Regions from separate parts of the Homo sapiens genome. Here region 1 is linked to region 2. The links are contacts of gene promoters, found by promoter capture Hi-C in human tissues and cell types (Jung and others, 2019). All regions are on one chromosome and are shown on one strand. Each heading gives the region's core, a stretch centred on a gene start or on the middle of the fragment in contact. The rest is flanking DNA. Distances are from core to core; before and after follow the strand shown. Region 1 has its middle 16 kb from the start of TRIM29. Region 2 holds the start of THY1 (Thy-1 cell surface antigen).

The links. Contacts are between HindIII fragments. The study calls those that stand out against the background at their distance.
Region 1: a fragment that was not itself captured here is called in contact with the fragment with the promoter of THY1 in region 2 in 2 of the 25 tissues and cell types used here (dorsolateral prefrontal cortex and hippocampus).

Annotation. Positions count from the first base shown.
Region 1 is chr11:120,152,558-120,155,796 of GRCh38, forward strand. No RefSeq gene overlaps it. Among named protein-coding and RNA genes, the nearest start is that of TRIM29, 16 kb to the left of the region's middle. The HindIII fragment of the contact is 4,875 bases long and covers 1-3,239 here.
Region 2 is chr11:119,421,716-119,424,955 of GRCh38, forward strand. THY1 (Thy-1 cell surface antigen) reads right to left here and starts at 1,457. Exons shown (of 4, transcript NM_006288.5): 1 at 1,398-1,457. The region is part of intron 2 of USP2-AS1 (USP2 antisense RNA 1); the gene reads left to right. RefSeq lists enhancers at 203-769, 770-1,335. The HindIII fragment of the contact is 13,176 bases long and covers 1-3,240 here.

The sequences.
Region 1 (3,239 bases), core at 277-2,776, 730 kb after region 2:
CCACTATTTCAAGTTAATTGTTGTTTATGATGTGAGATAAGGGCCATTTTTTTTCTTGTATATGGATACCCAATTGTTCCAGCACCATTTGTTGAAAAAACTATCATTTCCCCCGTTGAATTACCTTGGCACCTTTGTGAAAAATCAGTTATCTACATATATATAAATCTATTTCTGGACTCTCTATTCTGTTCAGTGATCTAAATGTTTACTTTATTCCATAATACACTATCTAATTACTACTACTTTGTTGTAAGTCTTAAAAATCAGGTAGTAAGTCCTCCAAGCTTGGTCTTCGTTTTTCATAATTTTTTGTACCTATTATGATCCATGGCATTTCCATATGAACTTTAGGATCAGATTACAAAATTCTTCAAAAATCTGCTCTGATTTTGACTGAGAGTACATTAAATCTGAAGATCAATTTGGGGAGAATTGACAGCTTAACAATAGCAAGTCTTAATAATATCAATACATACCATGAACATGGTATGTTTCTCTATTTATTTAGATCTTCTTTAACTTCTCCCAGCAGTTTTGTAGTTTTTAGTGTACTATACAAATTTTTGCTAATTTACTCTTAACTAGTTCATGTTTTCATGCCATCATAAATGTTATTTTCCATTTAAATTCCAATTGTTAGTTTCTAGTATATAGAAATACAATTAGGCCAGGCACAGTGGCTCACACTTGTAATACTAGCATATTAGGAGGCCAAGGTGGCAACTCCAGCTAGAGGCCAGGAATTTGAGAACAGCCTGGGTAACGTAGCAAGACCCTGTCTCTACAAAAAATTTAAAAATAAAAAAGTCAGTCAGGTGTGGTGGCACAGGCCTGTAGTCACAGCTACGTGGCAGGCTAAGGTGGGAGGATTGCTTAAGCCCAGGAGCTTAAGGCTTCAGTGAGTCATGATTGTGCCACTGCACTCCAGCCTGGGTGACAGACTGAGGCTCCCTCTCAAAAATAATAATAATAATAATTAATTTTTGTGTATTGAACCCATATCCTGCAACATTGCTAAACTCATTTATTAACTGTAGTGTCTTAGCTTGCTTGTGGATTTCCTAAGATTTTCTAGAGAGAAAATTATATTGTTTATAAATAAAAACAATTTTGAATCTTCTCATCTGTGCCTTTTTTCTTTTTCTTGAATTCTTGCACTGGCTAGGACCTCCAGTACACTGTCGAATAGAAATAGTTATAACAGACTTACTTGCTTTGTTCCTAATCTGAGAGGAAAAACATCCCATTTTTCACTACTAAGTATAATGTCAATTGTAGGGTATTTTTAAATAGATGCCCTTTTCCAGATTGTGTAAGTTCCCTTGTATCCCTAATTTGCTAAGATTTTATCATGAATCTTGATAAATTTGTCTTGTTGAATTTTGTCAAAAGCTTTCCCTGAATCTACTGACATGATCATGTTTTTTTCCTTTTTAGATCTGTTTATATGATACATTCATTTTCTATTGCTGCCGTAACAAGCTTAGTGGCTTAAAACAACACAAATTTATTATCTTATAGTTTTGGAGGTCAGAAGCCCAAAATGGGCTAAAATCAAGATGTTGGCAGGGCTGCATCTTTTCTGAAGGCTCTAGAAGATAACCCGTTTCTTTGCCTTTTCCAGCTTGTAGAGGCTGCACATGTTCCCTGGCTCATGACTTTTTCCATCTTCAAAGCCAGCATTTATATCACTCCAATCTCTGCTTCTGTCATGACACATCTTTTTGTCTGACTCTCCTGCCTCCCTCTTTTAGGTACAAGGATCTTTGTGATTACATTGGGCCCATCCTGATAATCCAGAATAATCTCCCATCTCAAAATCCTTAACAATCATATCTGCAAAATATCTTTTGCTACATAAAGTAGTATATTCACAAGTTCTGTGGATTAGGACATAGATATTATGACTACCACATATGATAAATTATAGATTGACTTTTTAAAAATTGTGGTTAAAAACACATAACACTTACCATTTATCATTTTTGAGTATACAGTTCAGTAGTGTTAACTACATTCACATTGTTGTATAACAGATCTCTAGAAGTTTTTCATCTTGCAAAACTAAAACTCTATACCCATCAAACAACAACTCCCCATTCCCCCTTCCCAACTCGACGAAACCACCATTCTACTTTCTGTTTTCATGACTTTGACTACTTTAAATATCTCATATAAGTGGAATCATACACTATTTGTCCTATTACGACTGCTTATTTTACTCAACAGAGTGTCTCCAAGGTTCATTCAAGTTGTATATAAATTGACTTGTGAAACTAAAAGTAGATCTACCATTCAATCCAGCAACCCTACTACTGGGTAACTACCCAGAGAAAAAGAAGTCATTATACAAAAAAGACACACACATACATGCAGGCATACTCACGCTGATAGCAGCACAATTTACAATTGCAAAGATATGGAATCAATCTAAGTGCCCATAGACCAATGAGTGGATAAAGAAAATGTGATGTGCATACACTGTGGAATGCTACTCAGCCATAAAAAGGAAAGAAATAATGTCTTTTGCAGCAATTTGGATGGAACTGGAAGCCATTATTCTAAGAGAAATGACTCAGGAATGGAAAACCAAATACTGTATATCCTTACTTGTAAGTGGGAGCTAAGCAATGAGGATGCAAAGACATACAGAGTGATATAATGAACTTTGGGGATTTGTGGGTGGGGAGGTTGGGAGCGAGGTGAGGGATAAAAGACTTCATACTGGGTACAGTTACACTGCTCAGGTGATGGGTGCACTAAAATCTCAGAATTCACCACTATAGAATTCATCCATGTAGGTAAAAACCACTTGTACCCCCAAAGCTATTTAAATAAAATAAATAAATAAAGATTTTAAAACTTAAAAAAACTGACTTTTGAATGTTAAGCCAACCTTGAATTCCTAGGATAAATCCCATTTGATCACACTTTGTTATTCTTTGTATATATTGCTGATTTTTTTTCTGCTAAAATTCTGTTTAGAAATGTTTCCTCCCCGTCTCTTTTCTGCAACAGTTTTTGTAGAATTGGTATTTTTTTAAAAATGTTTAGCATCCCAGAAATGGCTTGTACTGGCCCATGACAATGTACTTTCAAATTCTCAGAAATTTTGTAAGCCAGCTGTTAAATACAGCCAGTATTAAAAATTAAATAAATTATGTTAAAAGCAAAAGTAATCCATATGGAATGAATACTTATCATATCTTAAATATTTTGCTACATTTTATTAATAT
Region 2 (3,240 bases), core at 207-2,706:
AGATACCATTCACCATAGCTAAGGATGCTCCCAGATAGGGAGCATCTATTCCTATCTGGATAGGACACAAGCTAATCGTGTTCCTGGAGGAGAGAAAGACATAGTGATCTCCGATTGTATGTGAGCCAAGGATGCTTCCCAATGTCCAGCTCTCTGGAGTTCCTGGGACTGCAGTTTTCCAGCCCAGTTTCAATAGCCACCCTGGATAGGCTGTCTGCCTGGTCTTTTTTTGTTTTTTGCAGCCTTGGCTGAACCAACCCTTGGCGAGGCGACGCGGAGCCGGTAGTCTAGCCTATCTGCAGAGCAGTGCTCGCCCAGGAGAGGCCACAGAAGGGGCGTGCACCCGCGAGAGCGCGCAGGGCATTGCCTCGGTTGAGTGCGCCCGGGTGCGCAGGGCGCACCACTAGACGAGTTCAGGGTCCCTGGCGCTCAGCCCCTTGACGGGTGAGGCTAGGATCCCGCGGCGGCTGCAGCTACAATCAATGCTCTCTCTGTCCCGGGGTGGAGCTGCTGCCCTGAGCCAGATCCAGGAGGAAGGGGGGTCGGCATCTGGCTTTTGAATCGAGGACTCTTGTTTGAGATGTTGTGCGGGCTTGGGATCTAGGAGGGGAAGGGGGAGCAATGGCCAGAGCAAGAAAGGGAAGAAATGGGTCTGGGGCTGGAGAGGGTAGAAGAGCCAGGGGAGGGGTGGAGAGCGGCTGGGGAGGTGCAGTCTGTATTCATTTCCTCTGGTCTGTGTCCTCAGGCGGCTCCAGACCCAGAGAAGGTCTGCTCTTCCTCCCTCTCAAGCCCCCGGCGGGCCTCATCCTTAATCCATTTCCGTATTCCAATCCTCTCCTTTCCCAAATGAGTCCCCCTTCCCCCTCTCTCATCCTTTTCCAGCTCTCCCCTCCCCCGTCCGCCCGCCTTCCACCCAGTCCCCGCCTGCGGCACTGCGGCTTCCTTCTCCTCCGGTGCCCCGCACCCAGCCCGCCGCGAGGTCACCCGGCAGATTCCCTCTAGCTCGCCATCCTCCATCCTCTCCCCGCAGTTTCATCCGTCCTCCTCCCCGCCTCTGCGAGCTGGGTTTGGGGACGTCTGGGTGGAATGTAGACCCACAGGCTGTCCTTGGTGCCCTTCCTCCCTGTTCTCCAGCGCCCCAGCCCCAGACACCAGTCCCCCAGCGGGCGAAAGCCCGGGAGCGCCTTCCCCGAAAGACATCAGGGTGCCACGCGGCCCCTGCCCTGCAGAAGCATCCCCCTCCCGCCCCTGCCTGGAAAGCAGGCCCCTCCCTAAGCTCTGCGCCCTTCTTCCCTGGGCGCCCTCGGACCGTGGCCCGAAGCCTAGTGTTGGGAAGTCTTGCATGGGCGCCTGACGGCGGTCCCCGAGCCCCAGGTCCCACCGGCTCCAGTTCCCACCTGGACTGGGGTCTTCCGCTGCTGCAGCCTCCTCCAGACGCGCCGCCGCCTCCGGTTGCTGCACCCAGCTCGGAGCCCGCAGTTTTCACCGGGGATGGAGGAGAGGGGGAGCGGGGAGCCGGGGGCTCAGCCAATCAGAGGCGGAGATTGGGGGAGAAAGGACGGCAGGGTGGGGTGGGGGGTGGGGAAGGAAGAGAAGGCGGTCCCGCATTGGTGTGAGAGTGGCAGGTTGCGGCGGAAGGGGGCCCTCACCCTGTGGCTGGCAGGCCTGGCCAGGGACGGGAGGGTTCGGGACCCCGGGGATCAGGGTGCGGCAGCCCAAAGAACATTATCCTCCTCCCTGAGCCCCGCAATGGTTGTTCCCCTTTTAAGGCTTTAACCCTTTCTTCTGACCTATTCTTCAGGAGTCTGTGGGAAAACCAAAGTGTAAGAGGTGCAGGATGCAGGCCGGGAGCGCCCACGCCTCCACATTTCCTTTTCAGCTGGAGCCCACCTCCTCCGGAGCCTCCAGTGAGAAGTTTTGGAATATTCCAGTCTTTCTGAAAGGAAGCTGGTTGGGTGTTTTTCAGTGTTGGAGCAGCCCTTCGGAAGCGAGGCAGGTGCTGGACCCACCCTGTCCGTCCCTGGTCCCCAGCCCCATTTCGCCCCCTCATCTATTCCAGAGCACCCAGCCCTTCAGGGGGCTGCAGGCGCTTTTTGCTCTGGGCATTACGTCTTCTTCAGCCCCTGGGCTGGCACCTTCTGGTCCAGACAGCTGGAAGGTTCTTCTGGCTTTCCTGAGTACAGTCTGCTTGTTTGGTCTTCAGACCAGGAAGGGAGTGTTGCCTTTTAGCAGGCACTGTGCTGGGCACATTACATTCATGGCGACCTTTAACCCATGGCCGCCTGCTGGGTTCATCCCATCTCAATCCTCACCTCCTGTCTTGGCTGGTAAGTGGGAGAGCTGGAGAACTGACCTGGGCTATGGACCCCAGCTCTCAAGGGTGAGCCATTCCTCTTGCTCATCCCTGCCTAGTGGGAGAAGAGAGAGAGGAACTCTGGGAAAGAGGAGGAGACAGCACAAAAAGGACTGAGTCGAGGCCAACTCCTGATCACCTGGGGCACTCCTGATAACCCACCGATTGGATGTCACCAGAAGCCCTAGGCTCATTTTTAGAGACAGTGCTGATGACTTTCTCTCACTCACAGGTGTAGTGAATTTTTTTGAACTAACGTTTATTTGATTGATTTGTATCCTGCCAGCCTCTTTATGAATTCTGATCACGACATTCTGTGGGCCTCCCCAATGTCTGCCTGCCTGTTCTCCTATTTCTTCATGGAAGTCAGCCCTGGCACCTTCCCTGCAGTTTCTGATACTGCAGTGGCACTGTTGGAAGCCACTGTTGGAAGCTTGCAAGTGGGAGGAGATTCGCTTGGTTTCCCAGCATTTAGGGTGATGGAACACTCTAACTGGAATGAGCCTTGCAGATGGTTAAGTCCAAAGGAGCTATTCACTTTGGTAAACTGCAGAGGTTTCTAGGGCATTTTATGAAAAATGCAGCTGGCCTTGCCCACCTAGGACCTCCTTAATCTAGTACTAGAGCCAGCTGAGTCTGCACTTTTCTCACGCTCCCCAGGATCTGGGGACTCTAACACATGATCTGGTAAGACTGTCCCTCTTCATAGGTGAGCTAACCTGGCTTCTTGTTTGTAGGATACTTTTTAAGGCCATGAATGTCCTGGCCCCTGGCTGCTGACTTCCCTCCTCCCTCCAACTCCATCCCAGCCATCTTCCCATTCATCTACCTGATGCATTCCAGACACACTGGCTCTGGCTTCTGTCTGCCTCTTCATGGCAGCGCAC